6 separate regions of the Homo sapiens genome follow, and regions 1, 2, 3, 4 and 5 are each linked to region 6. The links are contacts of gene promoters, found by promoter capture Hi-C in blood cells and fetal thymus (Javierre and others, 2016). All regions are on one chromosome and are shown on one strand. The core of a region is centred on a gene start or on the middle of the fragment in contact, and the rest is flanking DNA. Distances in the headings are between cores, read along the strand shown. Region 1 overlaps HSD17B4 (hydroxysteroid 17-beta dehydrogenase 4). Region 2 overlaps HSD17B4 (hydroxysteroid 17-beta dehydrogenase 4). Region 3 overlaps HSD17B4 (hydroxysteroid 17-beta dehydrogenase 4). Region 4 overlaps DMXL1-DT (DMXL1 divergent transcript). Region 5 overlaps HSD17B4 (hydroxysteroid 17-beta dehydrogenase 4). Region 6 holds the start of SRFBP1 (serum response factor binding protein 1).

Region 1 (2,700 bases), core at 77-2,576, 2.5 Mb after region 6:
AAAGAAAGAAAGAAAGAAAGAAAGAAAGAAAGAAAGAAAGAAAAGAAAGAAAGAAAGGAAGAAAGAGAAAAATATGGTAAGATTGGGAGCATATAGGTAGGTAATGGAAGACTTTGAAACCAACCATCAGTGAGGATGTAAGTGCATTCAGCACAAATGAGTAAACATCTTATGCCATCCATCCCCCAATCACACATAAACCCAAAAAACAGGATTATAATAAAGCTGAAAAACTGACAGTGAGAATAACATAAATATCTTAAATGTGAAGAATTCTAATACCTACTAGAGCAGAAAATATGCTATAGACGATTCAAGTGTCTTAACACTACAGTTAACATAGAAGACAACTACATAAGAGAAGAAAATGCTTGCTGCCTCTGATTCCCCAACCAGGGCTAAGTGACGGGGACTCTCTTTACCTTGGATACTCTGAGGCTTGCTGGCATTCTCAAAGTCACAGATCTTCTTCCAGTTAGCCTTGACTGCCTCAGGAGTCATTGGGTGATTCTTTTGTCTTACAATAGCTCCAAGAGTCCGCTCCCAGCGTACTGGTTATAGAAACAAAACTAACATACTGAGCACATAGTTGAGAGACAGAAAGTAAGATGCATAAGAACCCTTTCATTTTTAAAGAGAAAGGAAATTCAGAAAAAAAGGGATTCTAACTCCTAAAGAGTTTTACCATAAGCCTTAAAATGAATTTTTCCCAACAAACCCACTAGGATAAGGTCAATTTAAAGAAACATTTGAAGCTGAAGGGAAAAATTTCTCCTCTGACTATGCCAGACAGTACTAAAGGTAGAATGTTATGCTGTATGTGAAAAAGTTTAATTATATAATAATCACATCAAAAGACTGACTTCATGACCACAGATCCCCAAAGTAATATACTTCATTCTTCTTGTTTATAAAATGAAGATAACTGAATAGAGCTTCGCTGAGTTAGCAAACTGAAGACTAATAGTAAATAATAGGTCAAAGACTTCAGTTAACAAAAATTTAGTGTAACAGGTGGCCCCAAATAATTCTCCCTTACCTTCTCTTTGCTCTACCTCTATTTCCACAAGAAGTCAGTTAGAATGCACAGATTCATAAAAACCATTACTGCTGCATAAGGAGAATTTTTAACATTGTTTTCTTTTTAAAAACCAGAGGTATAAACAACTACTAATAACCTTATTTAAACATAATAGTCAGACACTGATGATTGTTAAACTGAAGATTTGTCTTTGGGAATGACAGAAATGCCTGTGTCTAGAGCTTTCCTATTGATAAAGTGCCAGATATAGCTTTTACTGCAAAACCTTATGTTCCTTTTTTAAATGAATGCAATAAGACACTCAAAAATGCTTCAAGAATATAAGCCACTTTAACAATTAGAGAAAATGACCATTAATTCTAAAAATATTATACTACTACAGCAATGCCCTCCAGAGATAGCAACCTTTTAACTGATTCAGTTAATTGGATTAATTTTGATACCCATAGCCAACTAAATATAAGCTGAGACACAGAAATTTTCACAATTTTTTTAATGCCATAAAGCAATTCTCAAATTTGGAGTTCACAAGGTTTGAGAGATGGGGTAGGAGAGGGTTGAAGCCAAGTAAATTTACTATTTAACTATTTAAAATATTTAATTTAAATAGTTATTTAAAATAACTATTTAAAATAATTTTACTATCTAAAATAACTATTGGGCTAAAGCGGAATAATTCCCATAGATCAGCTGCAATTTCTGTCCCAGTAAGTTGTCCAATGTGATTCCTCACTCCCCTTGACGTCTCCTGCTTCATGGAAGAAAATAATTACATGGGAAAATTGGAGAACTTGCCTGCTGCTCTAGAATAGGCTCAACCCATCTTTTTCCAAAACAGCTCTCCCTCCCACTCACTTCTCTGCTGAAACAGCAAGAACGAGCATGTGGGAAGTCAAAGACATGGGAGGATGATTATCAATATATGCTGTCTGAAGGAATAGCCAGTTCTGAATAAAACAGGACAAGTCCTGAATAAGGACTACCTACAGGAAGAATAGATAGGGTCTTGAAAGGGCCACAGACCTATAGGACAATCACAATGTTTAAAAATACCTGTTGCTATAGCAATGTTTAAGTTTGAATATGCAAGCACTATATCCAATGGTTAGGCATTTGACAAAAATCTTACCCATCTCAACTGGATATGTAGGTTTAAAGATAAGGAAATAATCTATACAAACCAAAAACTGAGAGAGACTTACATTTTCCAATCCATCCTGCTCCAACCTACCAAAAAGAGGGGGAAAACATTATACCATCTAATGTGAAATCACTAATACAATTGTTTTAATTAGAAAAAAGTCAGCTCCTCTACTAGCAGTATTAGAATTCAAGGCAACAGGAGATGAAAATAATACAGCTCTGTAAGAGTCCACTGGCCCCCATGACTTTGCACTGCTCATGTTATCGGAGCACAAACGTAAAACAGTACAATGAAGTAGAAATGCATGTAATAGAAAAGAATGAATCTGATGTCAGAGACCAAGGCTTGATACAAATTTGTCTACTGACTACCCTGGCCAAATTATGTGATCCAAGTTTCCTCAAATGTAAAATAAAAATGACAGTACATATTTCATGTGGTTACCATGAAGCAAACAATATAAATAGTACACTGCCTAGCATATCATGAGATCCAAATAAATGTCCCTCTTGAA
Region 2 (2,700 bases), core at 40-2,539, 2.5 Mb after region 6:
GGACAGTCTATTAACTACAGAAGATTTTTCCTAAAAAGCATTCCCAAAATTTTGTCAAATACGTGCTATATTGGGAATGTACGAATATTGGGAAATCCTTTTCGTTTTTTCTTGAGACAGGGTATCACTGTCACCCAGGCTGAGTGCAGTGACACAATGATAGCTCATTGAAGTCTCAAACTCCCAGGCTCAAACCATCCTCCTGCCTCAGCCTCCTGAGTAGCTAAGACTACAGGCATGCACCACCACACGTGGCTTTTTTTTTTTTTTTTTGGCAAAGACAGCGGGCCTTGCTATGTTGCCCAGGCTGGTCTTAAACTCATGGCCTCAAGCAATCCTCCTGCCTCAGCCTCCCAAACTGTTGGGATTACAGGCGTGAGCCACTGCACCCAGCCAGGATCCAAGGAATTCTAAAACACACTTAGATCCGATAAAAAGTATTCTATAAGTAGGTAAATAGATAACTAAGTACAAGGTACCAAATTATCAGGCATCAATAGCCTGAAAATAGAACCACGTGTTTGTGAGAATGCCTGTTACCCCACATTCTCACAACATTGGTTATTATCATTGCCTTCAGTCTGACAATTACATGATTATAATTTGTAGCTCATTATTTTAGTCTACATTTTTTTGAGCACTAGTAAAGTAATATTTTATTTTCATGGCTTATATTTATATTTATTATTGTTTTGCCTATTTAGTTCACATTTTATTTGGGATACTTGCTTATAGATTTGTAAATGTCCTTTATTTATAAAAGATCTTAATTCTTTGTTACATAAGATATGAATCATAAATTCCTTTACTGAAATGTTGAGAGAGAAATAAAGTTCATATCTGAGCATCAATATTACTTGATGACTATTATGTACATTGCTTTTTACCCCATCTCAGGGTAAAAGTTAGTCCTTACTCTGAACTAAAGGTCCTATGTGATCTGGCCTTCTAGGACCCCTCTGCCCTCATCTCTCACTTTTGTCTCCCTTATGACCTTGCTCGCTATATAACCACACTGGCTCCCTTCCTAACCCTAAAACATACCATGCCTGCTGCAGCCTCAGTAACCTGGCTTCAGCTGCTTCTTCTGCCAGGGATGCCGCGACAGCAGATCTCCTCAAGGCGCACTCCTTCACTTCCTGCAGTCTCTCCTTAAAGCATTTTCTGTTCCATTCACTCATTTTTTTCTCCACAGCACCTACATCTATTATATTTTTACATATGTATTTCTTGATTATCTGTCCCTCCACTACTCCCCACTAGAATATATGCACCATGAAAGTAGGGACTCTGTTTTATTCCCACTATATTCCTCTGGCATCTAGAACAGTGTTTGCTACATAATAGACGCTTAATAAATACATGTTAGATGAATAAATGAATCTATTTGATGTTAAGTCTATTAACCTTATTACTTTTTTTAAAACTGGCAAATGACAAAATAACGACTTGCTAAGAACTACTCTAGCTCTTAAAATGACAAATAGCTAAGAGCTACTCTAAATTTATTCAAAGGTTTTCCCCCATAATCCAGATTGGTGATAGTCATGGAGGTATCCAAGGGAGATGTGGGTATTTCATGTACGGCTCATTTATTATCAGCTGGAATTCACATGTGCCTTCTTATGATCTTTCTCCCTGTATTATATCAGTTTCACTTATTCAATCAGTATATATTCTTGATTACTAAGTACTATACTTACCGTTGCGGAGAGTGTATCAGTGCCTAAAGCAGCCTGGGATGGTTTAAATATTTAGCCCCTCCAAAACTCACATTGAAATTTAATCCCTGATGTGACAGTATAGAGATGTGGGGCCTTGGCCGGGCACAGTGGCTCACACCTGTAATCCCTGCACTTTGGGAGGCCGAGGCGGGCGGATCACGAGGTCAGGAGATCGAGACCATCCTGGCTAACACAGTGAAACTCCATCTCTACTAAAAATACAAAAAAAAAAATTAGCTGGGCACGGTGGCAGGCACCTGTAGTCCCAGCTACTTAGGAGGCTGAGGCAGGAGAATGGCGTGAACCCGGGAGGTGGAGCTTGCAGTGAGCCGAGATAGCGCCACTGCAGTCCGGCCTGGGCAAAAGAGGGAGACTCCCTCTCAAAAAAAAAAAAAAAGAGATGTGGGGCCTTTAAAAAGTGATTGAATTGTGAGGGCTCTGCCCTTATAAATGCATTAATCTATTCATGGACTAATAGATTAATCGGGTAATGAATTAACAGGTTATCATGGGAGTGAGACTAGTGGCTTTATAAGAAGAGGAAAAGAGACGAGAGCCAGCACACTCAGCCTCTTGCCCTGTGACGCCCTGTGCCATCTCGGGACTCTACAGAGTCCCCACCAGAAAGGAGGCCCTCCTCACCAGATGTAGCCCCTCAGCACTGGCCTACTCAGCCTACATAACTATAAGAAATAAATTCCTTTTTTAAAATACATTACCCGGTTTTAAGTGTTCTGTTATAAGCAACAGAAAACAGACTAAGACACAGAGCTTTTCCTTTAAGCATCTAGGAGAAACATGTATAAGGGGGCTAGGATGTGCCTTGAGTCAACAAGACCTCAGTCAACAAGACCTTCACTTTGATATATCCAGTTCTTGAGCAGAGTGAGTCATATATGGTAAGCAGGGACTGATATTGGTTCCTTTCTCTTCCCTTTCCGAAAGTCTTTAATTTTTTGTCATTTACCCTCACCAT
Region 3 (2,700 bases), core at 201-2,700, 2.5 Mb after region 6:
TTAAAACAATGCCATCTCAAAATCTGACCCAACCTCACTCACTCTACTTAGGCTAAGTAAAATAAATCATATTATTTATTTTCAGAAACTGTCAGGACCAGGATAAACTAGAAATCTCCAACAAAAACAGGCATCACAAGCAATTTGCTTCTATTAGGTATGTATGAATCCTAAATTAACAGGAATGACCTCAGCACTAGAGTGCAACAGAGGACATGGACTAAAGCATACTAGCACTGCCACAATGAGTTACTTATCTAGGAGCAATCATGAGGGGTCCTACAGTTCCTAAACAGTTTATAAAGACTAACTCACGTCTGACTAGCACCAGCCAGCAGGGACTAGCCATTCATCTCTCCCCAGCTGGTAAGACATGAAATAATATTCGGGTTACAGAATAAGGTATAACCGAATCCTCAATGTGTATACTATCTTCTAAAATGCCAGAAACTAAGGCAGGAAGATTACTTGGGCCCAAGAGTTTGAGACCAGCCTGGGCAACAAAACGAGATACTGTCTCTACCAAAAAATTAAAAAACTTGCCAGGCATGGTGACACATACCTGCAGTCCCAGCTACTTGGGAGGCTGAGGTGGGAGGACTGCTTGAGCCCAGGAGGTAAGGCTACAGTGAGCCATGTTCATGCCACTGTACTCCAGCCTGGACAAGAATGAAACTATGTCTCAAAATAAAATAAAAATTGCCAGAGAGCAGCAAGAAAATCTTTAATAACAAAAAGAGGTAAAAAATAAATATAAAGCTTTCCAGCTCAGCCAATCTGTGACTAAATTATACCAATTTAATGAGGGTATGTGCCAAAACCATATGTTAAAAGGTTGTACATATTCCTCAATGTCATAAATCATTTCACAACACTTCACATAATCTTTCCCTGTACACAAGAACCCCCAGACACAACATCTTAAATCCCCCTTGACAACCACATGCAACTCTACCTTCCATACTTCTGTTTCTTCATGTGTTCCCATGCTGCCCGTGTCACTTGGAATGAACCCCGCAAATGAACTCTGTGGATTATATCTAAAACAATAAATTATTTTTATTAAATATTTTGTAAAAACTTAGGCATGTCTAAGAATCAACATAAGCAATGTTGTATTTATACAAAGATGTTCATTTTATACCTAATGTATAAAATTGCCTACTGTCACACCCCAATGAGTATTTTGCCTTTATTCCAGTTATGCTACTAATCAATACTTCACACTTAGAACTACAACAGCTCTCCTCATAATTTGTAAAATTAATGTAATGCCTATACACATCTAAATATAATGCTACGCCCTTATTTTATGCCTACTTCATATAAAAATTTTGCTAATATAAAATCCAAGATTTTTATAAATATAACTGGCACCCAACACTAACATCAGTTAAGGCATAATCATAAATCACATAGCTCATTAAGAAATATTTACAAAATACTCACTAGATCCCTATTGTTACCATTTGCAAATGAGTTAGTGAGAGGCCTGTTTTCACAAATTTCAATCTAACGAACAGACCACTTATGAAACATTCAGACAGACAATTCTAGATTTTAATTGTCAAGTTTTTTAAGCATTCTTACTTATTTTTGGTAAAACAAATGTTTTCATGTGTATATTAGAAGAAGAATGTAAGAGTGAAAAAAGGAACTAAAAAAAAGAAAGAGAGGGAGAAGGGTAGTCAGGAGTAGTGGCTTAGTAGGATGGAATCAGAGAAGGAAATACCTCAGTCCCGTTGCAGCACCAAGAAAAGCACCAACATAGGCCCCCTTTGCCAGCAAATCCTATCTTTCTCAGCTTCTTTTTTACCCCAGTTGTTACAAGGGAAGCAGAAACTAAAAGCTCTTCTTAGCTTAATTCTAAATCAAAGACACTAACTCTTCTTCCAAAAGACAGTCAGGCACTATTCCCCCAAAACACACTCTATAAACAATGATACAATTGTTTCACCTCAGTTGCCATGCTTCCCTCTGTCTCAGCCACCACTGTTCATTTTAGTTCTGATGGCCAATGAAAGTAAGCACAAAGAGGAGCAAAAGAAAAAAAAAATTCTTAACTGTGATTTGTTCATTATCTAAACTCAATCTTTCCAATTCAGAAAGAATGGAAAACTTTCCTATTTACTAGAAGCTTCAAAATTATATCCAGGTTTTGTCCTAACCTGTTCTAAAATCTCCATCATTTTTAGTGCACTAGACTCCCTTAAATATCCTGCTCCTGTTCTTGAAAAAGATTCACACAGCTGGATAAGCACGTTAAAGGCTGTTAAGAGTTAATACCTCTAGAAAATGCTGACAACCTCTTAAGGAGAAAAAAAGGGGAGAGGGAAACCTGAAGAAATAAAATCCTTTTAGATATCTTCTAAACAAATGATTTAACATTTTTTAAAAGTATTAAATGTTTTCTAAAAGAGGCTACTTCTAACTATTCATTGTCTTCAGTATACAGTTTACTCATCATTTATATTAGCAGCAAAAGTAGATAGAAGCAGGTTTTTCCTTAAATGTATAAATTTATCAAATACTAAAAAGGCTAAATGGATAAGTATGTTCCCCAGAGAAATACTAAAAACAACTTACCCCAGTCTTCATCACTTATCCTAGCAAAGGAACGATCCCTCAGAATTCTAAAAAATCAATGTTGTATAGGGTAAAAGGAGGAAAGTATATACTTTTTAAAAAAATTATACACAC
Region 4 (2,700 bases), core at 31-2,530, 2.9 Mb after region 6:
GGGGAGTGAATGGGAGGACTAGCAGGTGACGAGGAAAGAGGGTGAGTCATGGTCAGTGGGGCAGATCATGTAAGGCTACGTGATTTGTAGTAGGCAGGGCCTTGGTTTTGACTCTGAGTGAGATGGGAAGCCATTGGATGGCATTGAGGAAAAGAGTGACGTCTGATTTATGTTTTAATAGGATCACTTTGGCTGCAGGATTGAGAATAGTTTTAAGGAAGGCAAAGGCAGAAACAGAATTACTAGAATGTAAACTCCATTAAAGCAAAGTTTTTATACGTTTTATTCACTTTGTATCCCTAGTGGTTTATAATAGTGACTGGCAGATAGAGATAATCATTTGTTTAAGAATGCATATTTGCATATGTGTGCACCAGATCATGATATGAAATATATTTCTTATGGTAGATCAAGGTCAAAAGGATTGAAAACCCCTGTCTTAAAACTGACCTAGTCTTGGATCTCAGGAAAGGGATTCTCTGGGAATTGACCTTTTTTAGGCTGAGATCTGAAGAATGAACAGGAGGATGTGGGGGTGTCAGAAAAAAGACTTTTTCAGAAGTTGTAAATTTGAGAATCATCAGCACATGCATAGCATTTGAAGCTCTCTGCAGGTGTTTTTGTGTGAAAGTAAGGAGCCAAATTAAAGCCATTGCTAACCGCCTCCACTTTCTGTTTCTTATTTTGTATGCTCATTTCCTGTAGCATTCGTCCTGTTGAAAAATAGTGTAGTCATTTATTTTTTAAAAAGTATAAATCTTGAAGGACGCTTCCTGTCTCACATCATAGTAATAGGAAAAGTCAGTGAATTTGAAATTCAAATTTAGTTTATTTAAATGAGTAAGAAGATTCACGGATATTTTAGGTATGCCACATTTTTTGAGGCTATATCTTTTTACCTCTGAGTCTGATTCAATTTTGAATACTCAGAATATGCTTCTTCTATACAAGTATTGGTATGAGTTATATCATCTGCTCAAGGGACTGGCAATGATTTTCTTTATTTTTTTTCTTTTGGGGACTTTTGGGAAGGCATGATTGTGTGTTGAAATGTGAGAATGACATGAGATTTGGGAGAGGCCATGGGTGGAATGATATGGTTTAGCTCTGTGTCTCCACAGGGCAAAATAGGGACAGCAAGTCCTGAAGGAGAGGAGGCTCATACTTACATATCTGAGATAAGAACTGTTCCAAGAACTTTCTAAAAATCCTTTCACTTCTTTCATACACCCTTTGATAAGATTTATCACAAGATGGCCGGGCACGGTGGCTCACGCTTATAATCCCAGCACTTTGGGAGGCTGAGGCGGGCTGATCACTTGAGGTCAGGAGTTTGAGACCAGCCTGGTCAATGTGGTGAAACCTCATCTCTACTAAAAATACAAAAATTAGCCAGGTGTGGTGGCATGTGCCTGTAATCCTAGCTACTCAGGAGGCTGAGGCAAGAGAATTACTCGAACCCAGGAGGTGAAGGTTGCAGTGAGCTCACTACAGCGCTACTGTATCCAGCCTGGGCGACAGAGTGAGACTCCATCTCAAAAAAACAAACAAACAAACAAAAAAACGCAAAAGATTTATCACAAGACATTCTTTAAGACTGCAGTGATTAAGTTGAGCTGTTCTTGGAAAAACATTTGCCCAGTAATGGCATTTCTATCAATGAACTAACAGCAACTCTGGCTTAGAAACTCCATGACCAATGAGCCATTTCTAAGCAGCTCATGTAAATATTTTTTGCTAATAAAGGCTCTCCTTACCCTTTCTTCACTGAATGCTCTGGTGATTTGCCATGTCATGCATTCCAGATTATAATCCTTATTTCTTTTCTTTTTTCTTTTTTTTTTTTGAGACGGAGTCTTGCACTGTTGCCAGGCTGGAGTGCAGTGGCTTGATCTCGGCTCACTGCAAGCTCCGCCTCCTGGGTTCGCGCCATTCTCCTGCCTCAGCCTCCCAAGTAGTTGTGACCACAGGCGCCCGCCACCACCCCCGGCTAATTTTTTGTACTTTTAGTAGAGACGGGGTTTCACCGTGTTAGCCAGGATGGTCTCGATCTCCTGACTTCGTGATCCGCCCACCTCGGCCTCCCAAAGTGCTGGGATTACAGGCACCCGGCCTATAATCCTTATTTCTATTTCCAAGTAGACTCAACATATTTAGAGATAATTTTCTCTAGCATCTTTTGACAAACTCGTGACCTAAACACCTCTCATTAGGCCCCACCTCCCAACACTATTGCATTGGGAGTTAAGTTTTCAACACATGAAATGTGGGGGACACAGTCAAACTATATCACTTTGTCTGCCACTATTAGAATCAGATATCCACATTGTGTGTTTTTTTTAAAAAGAATCACTTCTTTTTTTTTTTTTTTTTGAGATGGAGTCTTGCTTTCTTGCCGAGGCTGGATTGCAGTGTCACCATCTCGGCTCACTGCAACCTCCGCCTTCTGGGTTCAAGTGATTCTCCTGTCTCAGCCTCCTGAGTAGCTGTGATTACAGGCGCACAACACCATGCCCAGCAAATTTTTGTATTTTTAGTAGAGACAGGATTTCACCATGTTGGCCAGGTTGGTCTCAAACTCCTGACCTCAAGTGATCCACCCATCTCAGCCTCCCAAAGTGCTGGGATTATAGGCATGAATCACCATGCCTGACTCAAATCTTTTAATTAATTAATTGATTTATTTATTAACAGATGTGG
Region 5 (2,700 bases), core at 57-2,556, 2.4 Mb after region 6:
GGTTCATTATGAGAAATGACAAAAGCCAACTGACTAGATGTTTGACCCATTCAATCATAACACAAAATAAGCATTGTTCAATTAATAATGACCACTGCCAAAGCTTATCTTCTACGTATTTTGAAGAAATGGCATATTTCAGAAGGAAAGCTAAAAGTTTCTTGTTTCGTTTCATTTCTGCCTGGAAATAAGTCATTATAAATAACAACCACCAAAAAAATAAGAAAAAGAAAAATAGCTATATATTATTTTGCATATTAAAAGTAGGTGGGAGGATAATCTGCATACAGGTAAACTATTCCTTAATTTGATTTTTTAAAATTGTACCATTAAGTTAAACTAAATGCTAAATAAATAGGCTCAGGAAACTAGTGCTTTTTAAGTCCTCATATCCTCGAAAAAAAAAATACAAATAATGAGAACAAATAAAACTACACAAATCTCAAGCCTACAGTGTAACTAGAAGACAGAGAACACTGCAGAGTTCAAATTCCAGTAAGTCTCAAAATAAACACCACTTTTCTATCAGTGCTAACTTTTGAGCACCCTCTGAAAGCTACTGCAGAGTGGCAGGGCTTGGGGGGTGCAAAAGCAGTGCATGGAAGAGGGAAAAGGAAAATCACTCCCAGATAAATCCATCTTAAGGGCAAAAATACTGAAATGAATCCTGGAAGATTACAGCACTGACTACAATGAAAATAATTAATAGTACACTAGTCTTCCAGTGGCAATTCCAGAAAGGTATCACTTTCGGGGAGAACAGAATAAAACAAAGATATCACCTTTGGAGACTGGATGAAGAAAAAAAGAAGCAAGAGAGGAAATTAATGATCCTGAAAGATAATTTATTTTATTTTTAAAAATAAAACACCTCCCCACAGTGCCCCTTCTTTAAAGCCACCCACTAAAGAAATTGCATGTTGCTACACAGAGAGAAAGGGCAATTTTGAACTAAGAATCTTGGAAACCACCCCAAACCACAAAACGCACAGAGGTAAATATTCTTCATCTGTACAACACTAACATAAAACTAAAATTGCAATTCCTCAGGGATCTAGAACTAGCAATACCATTTGACCCAGCCATCCCATTACTGGGTATATACCCAAAGGATTATAATCATGCTGCTATAAAGACACATGCACACGTATGTTTATTGCAGCACTACTCACAATAGCAAAGACTTGGAACCAACCCAAATGTCCAACAATGATAGACTGGATTAAAAAAATGTAGCACATATACACCATGAAATACTATGCAGTCATAAAAAAGGATGAGTTCATGTCTTTTGTAGGGACATGGATGAAGCTGGAAACCATCATTCTCAGAAAACTATTGCAAGGACAAAAAACCAAACACCACATGTTCTCACTCATACGTGGGAATTGAATAATGAGAACACTTGGACACAGGAAGGGGAACATCACACACCGGGGCCTGTTGTGGGGTGGGGGAGGAGGGAGGGATATCATTAGGAGATATACCTAACGTAAATGACGAGTTAACGGGTGCAGCACACCAACATGGCACATGTATACGTATGTAACAAACCTGCACATTGTGCACATGTACCCTAGAACTTAAAGTATAATAAAAATACATATATATTTAAAAAAAAAAAACCAAAACTGAAAATGCAAAACAAAACCTTTTAGTAAATAAAATCCACCCCCCCTCCAAATAAACAAACTGCCAAACAGAAGAAAACTGTAACAAAACACTCAAGCATTTGGGGATGTAAAACAAACACTCTGAATCCAAAATCCAAAAACTAAGAAAATAAATGGATGACATACATGAAGAAATAAATAAGTAATGATTAAATTCAAGAAAGAAATGGAAAGAAAAAATCAAAATCATATAAGAAATGAAGACTAAATTATAAGGTACCCAAAGGAGAACACATTCAAATAAAAATTAAATAAGGGGATGGCAGAAAGGGCAGAAATGAACCATGAGAATGAAAATGAGATCAAGAAGCAACTAAAAAAGAACAGAAGAAAAGTAGTTGAAAGACATGAAAAGATTCAACATACATATAAATGGATACCCAAAGAAAGAAAAGCAAAACAGTGAAAGAGAACTAATATTTAAAATTTTAATACTATAAAACTAAAAGACATGAATATACATATTAAAAAGGCCCACCAGGTATATAAGGAAGACTGACCTGCAACATGCAAGACTGAGACATATCCCAGCAAAACCATTAGACTTTAAAAACGAAAATAATCTTGAGGGCCTCAGGGTAAAGATCAAGTAACTTACAGGGGAAGATAATTAGATTGGCATCAGACTTTTCAAAGGCAACATACAAAGTAAGACAACAATGATGCACCATTTTTAAGAAATAAGATTTTATATCCAACAATGCTGTCCCTTCAAGTATCTAGGGTAAATAGTTTTAAAGATATAGAAACCAAGGCAACACTATACACAGGAGCCGTTCTTGGGAAACCTTCCACAGAAGGAGCTTCATCCAACTAAGAGCTGACTAAGAAGCTTTGGCAAAAGGGTTGACATATTCAACTGCAAATCTAAAACTAAAAGATACAGAAAAGTGGAAATAATACATAAATGTTAAATGCTCTAAACAGTAAAAATAATGCATCCCCCAAAATGGGAACAATAAGAGGGGAAAAAGTAAAATAACCTCTTTTGACTGTTATACAAGAAACGAAGCCAAAGAACAGCAAT
Region 6 (2,700 bases), core at 143-2,642:
CACAAAGCACAAGCTTAATGTATGTTTATGAGTAAATAGTAACTACTTTCAGCTTCCCTCTTCAGCATATCCTGTACTCCACTGTCAACTGAAATCCTGACTCGTTAATCTGGCAGCAGAGAATATATTTCAGTTTTATTTCCTTCTTCATCTCACAAGTTCCCATCAGTGAAGAGTTACTTATCCCTGTATTACCCACGGGTTCTTCTGCTACTAGCCCTTTCCTGCTTATACCAGTCCCTCTGCCTGGAATGACTTCTTCCCCTTTCCTGAATCACTGACTGCAATTCCTGTGCAAGATCCCTAAAGACCAAGGACAAGTATCACCCATTTCATTTTGCCGCCTTTGGAAACTTTTCTGCATTACTAGGTTTTGGAGGCATTCTTCACACATTGTTCTGTAACACAGGTGAGTGTTGCTTAGCTCTCTTACTTGAGTATAGGTTACTAGAAAATATGAAATATCCCTTACACTACTGTGTGTAATCTAAACAGTGACTTGCTCATAAACGGGATAAAGAATTTCCTTTCTGTATCTAACTGTGAGGTCCTTACTCGATCCTTATGTTTCCAGCTTACTTTAAGACTTTGGATGACATTATTTTGTTGAATAGAAGCAGAAACCAGAGGGGGATAAGTGGTAGAAATGGTATTTTGTCGACACCGCACACTATGGAAGTGACGGTGGTGAGAACAAATGTCTGATGAGAATGGACTGAAAAAGCAGAAAAAAGAATTGAGGATAGCAAGTATAAACAGCTCTTTATTGAAGTTCTGCTGTAAACGGAAGCAAAGAAATAGGACACTAACTGGAAGAGGAAACGAAGTACTGAGCATACAGTCTCATTCAAGACCACCAATTTCTTAGAAGCTACAGCTCTTACTTTCTCTCTTTCATTTTCGACAGGCAATAAAGAGCAGGTAATGTGTACTGAAAGTTTATTAAGGGTCAGGCACTTGCAAATACTTTACGTATCTCAGTTAATCTCACAACCCTGGGACGAACTATCTTGAGTTCCGCTTTACAGACGAGAATATTGAACGTACAGGCTAAAGGTTCTTCCCAAAGTCCCACAGACATAAATTCGTGGGGCCTGACACATGTCTCTCACTTTAGTCACCTGGAGACCGAAAAGGGAAATTACCGGTTGCCAAACTCCAAGTTGCGGGAAACCCGCCTGGGCCCACCACGAAAGTTCCTCCAACCGCACCCTCTATGCCCGCCTCCGACCACGCGTCTCAAAAGAGCTGGTTTTGAGGACCCTTAAAGTCAGCCCCATAGGTTCCTCGGCGCTCACCTCGTTATTGAGGTTCAGAGTTCCCGGCTGAGCCATGGTAGATGAAGGAATATGATCCGCCGCTGCCTGCACGTGAACCGGTCTCTCAGACCGCGGCTGCGTCGCCACGCCCCTCAACGGAAGCCTCTTCTGTCCAAAACTCATCCGCCTTCTGCTCTAGCTGCCGCCTGGGAACAAGAAACATTGACGCTTGGAAGGGAAAACCGGAACTGAGACAGAACAACTACCGGCGCAGAGGGCTACGCAACGGAATTGCGCGTTCCTATGGAAACCAGACGGGGGCTGGTAGCTGGGCAACGTCTAGTTTTTCAAGATTCGGTTTGTGTGTGTGTGTGTGTGTGTGTGTGTGTGTGTGTGTGTGTGTGTGTGTTCCCTTGGTACACTGCGCTCGCATTGTACCGGCCTTGGTTTTTCTCTCTAATGGCTAGGGGGGCGCTGAACGGCGGTGAAAGAGCTCTTCTGAAATGATCACTTGAATGAACGATTTTTTGCTTCCATTTTTTTAAATCTAGTATTTGTGAAGATTTCTGCTTTTCTAACAAGCACACCTTTTTAAATCCTCGCAGTTTTTTGTTACAACCTGACATTATAGCTGAGGTGCGGACATTTTTTTCCTGCACACTATAGAAGGGTTTAAATTTAGGGAATAAACATTTGAAGCAAAACCAGGATACACATTTGGTACTGCCTGTGGGAATGGCTGTTTATTAGCCGGCAAGCATAGGAGACGTAAGGGAGTGTGTTTGAATTAGGTAATATATAATTGTCAACACCTTCTAGTATTGACCATTAAAATGTGTCAAATGGTGGTCCAAGAGCTTTACATAAATTAGCTCCAAATCTCCACAGAAATCCAACAAGATAGAAATTATTTTCCTTTTATTAATATTATTTTGTTAGAGACCCAGTCTCTCTTTGTCATCCAGGCTGGTGTGCAGTGGCACAGTCATAGCTCACTGCAGCCTCAAACTCTTGGGCTCAAGCCATCCTCTCACCTCAGCCTTCCAAATAACTAGGACTACAGGAGTGAGCCACCCTACTCTGCTCTGAACTATTATTTTACAGATGTGGAAAGTGACTTCAGAGGCACCAAGTGCCTCGCCCAGAGTCACTTGCCTGGGACTGTCCACTGCTACAGGACTTCAAGTCCAGCTACATAATACCTGGGGTACAGTGCAAAATGAAAATCCAGGCCCCTTTATTCAAAATGCAGGAAAAACGTTTCTTCCGGCGGAGGGTGGTGGCTCATGCCTGTAATCCCAGTACTTTAGGAAGCCTAGGCGGGCGGATCACCTGAGGTCGGGAGTTCGAGACCAGCCTGACCAACGTGGAGAAACCCCGTCTCTACTAAAAATACAAAATTAGCCGACCGTGGTGACGCATGCTTGTAATCCCAGCTACT

The links. Contacts are between HindIII fragments. The CHiCAGO score rates a contact against its expected background, and 5 or more counts as called.
Region 1: a contact is called between a fragment that was not itself captured here and the fragment with the promoter of SRFBP1 in region 6, in 2 of 17 cell types (naive CD8 T cells and total CD4 T cells). The highest score is 5.4, in naive CD8 T cells.
Region 2: a fragment that was not itself captured here is called in contact with the fragment with the promoter of SRFBP1 in region 6 in 6 of 17 cell types (endothelial precursors, naive CD4 T cells, fetal thymus and 3 more); the score reaches 10.0 in endothelial precursors.
Region 3: a fragment that was not itself captured here is called in contact with the fragment with the promoter of SRFBP1 in region 6 in 5 of 17 cell types (endothelial precursors, naive B cells, naive CD8 T cells and 2 more); the score reaches 10.0 in endothelial precursors.
Region 4: a contact is called between a fragment that was not itself captured here and the fragment with the promoter of SRFBP1 in region 6, in 2 of 17 cell types (naive B cells and total CD4 T cells). The highest score is 5.6, in naive B cells.
Region 5: a contact is called between a fragment that was not itself captured here and the fragment with the promoter of SRFBP1 in region 6, in 1 of 17 cell types (naive B cells). The highest score is 5.6, in naive B cells.

The regions. Positions count from the first base shown.
Region 1 is chr5:119,491,669-119,494,368 of GRCh38, reverse strand. It overlaps HSD17B4 (hydroxysteroid 17-beta dehydrogenase 4), which reads right to left. Exons shown (of 24, transcript NM_000414.4): 10 at 2,245-2,269; 11 at 423-551. Among named protein-coding and RNA genes, the nearest start is that of HSD17B4, 41 kb to the right of the region's middle. The HindIII fragment of the contact is 6,928 bases long and covers 1-2,700 here.
Region 2 is chr5:119,459,295-119,461,994 of GRCh38, reverse strand. All of the region lies in intron 2 of HSD17B4 (hydroxysteroid 17-beta dehydrogenase 4), which reads right to left. Among named protein-coding and RNA genes, the nearest start is that of HSD17B4, 8.1 kb to the right of the region's middle. RefSeq lists a silencer at 206-423 and an enhancer at 2,569-2,700. The HindIII fragment of the contact is 3,959 bases long and covers 1-2,700 here.
Region 3 is chr5:119,475,757-119,478,456 of GRCh38, reverse strand. HSD17B4 (hydroxysteroid 17-beta dehydrogenase 4) reads right to left here. Exons shown (of 24, transcript NM_000414.4): 6 at 2,587-2,633; 7 at 956-1,040. Among named protein-coding and RNA genes, the nearest start is that of HSD17B4, 25 kb to the right of the region's middle. The HindIII fragment of the contact is 1,378 bases long and covers 762-2,139 here.
Region 4 is chr5:119,029,459-119,032,158 of GRCh38, reverse strand. The region is part of intron 1 of DMXL1-DT (DMXL1 divergent transcript); the gene reads left to right. Among named protein-coding and RNA genes, the nearest start is that of DMXL1-DT, 40 kb to the left of the region's middle. RefSeq lists an enhancer at 268-317. The HindIII fragment of the contact is 3,610 bases long and covers 1-2,700 here.
Region 5 is chr5:119,520,845-119,523,544 of GRCh38, reverse strand. The region is part of intron 17 of HSD17B4 (hydroxysteroid 17-beta dehydrogenase 4); the gene reads right to left. Among named protein-coding and RNA genes, the nearest start is that of HSD17B4, 70 kb to the right of the region's middle. The HindIII fragment of the contact is 2,402 bases long and covers 106-2,507 here.
Region 6 is chr5:121,960,667-121,963,366 of GRCh38, reverse strand. It overlaps SRFBP1 (serum response factor binding protein 1), which reads right to left and starts at 1,392. Exons shown (of 8, transcript NM_152546.3): 1 at 1,299-1,392. The coding sequence starts at 1,334. RefSeq lists enhancers at 1,407-1,456, 1,201-1,739. The HindIII fragment of the contact is 3,156 bases long and covers 16-2,700 here.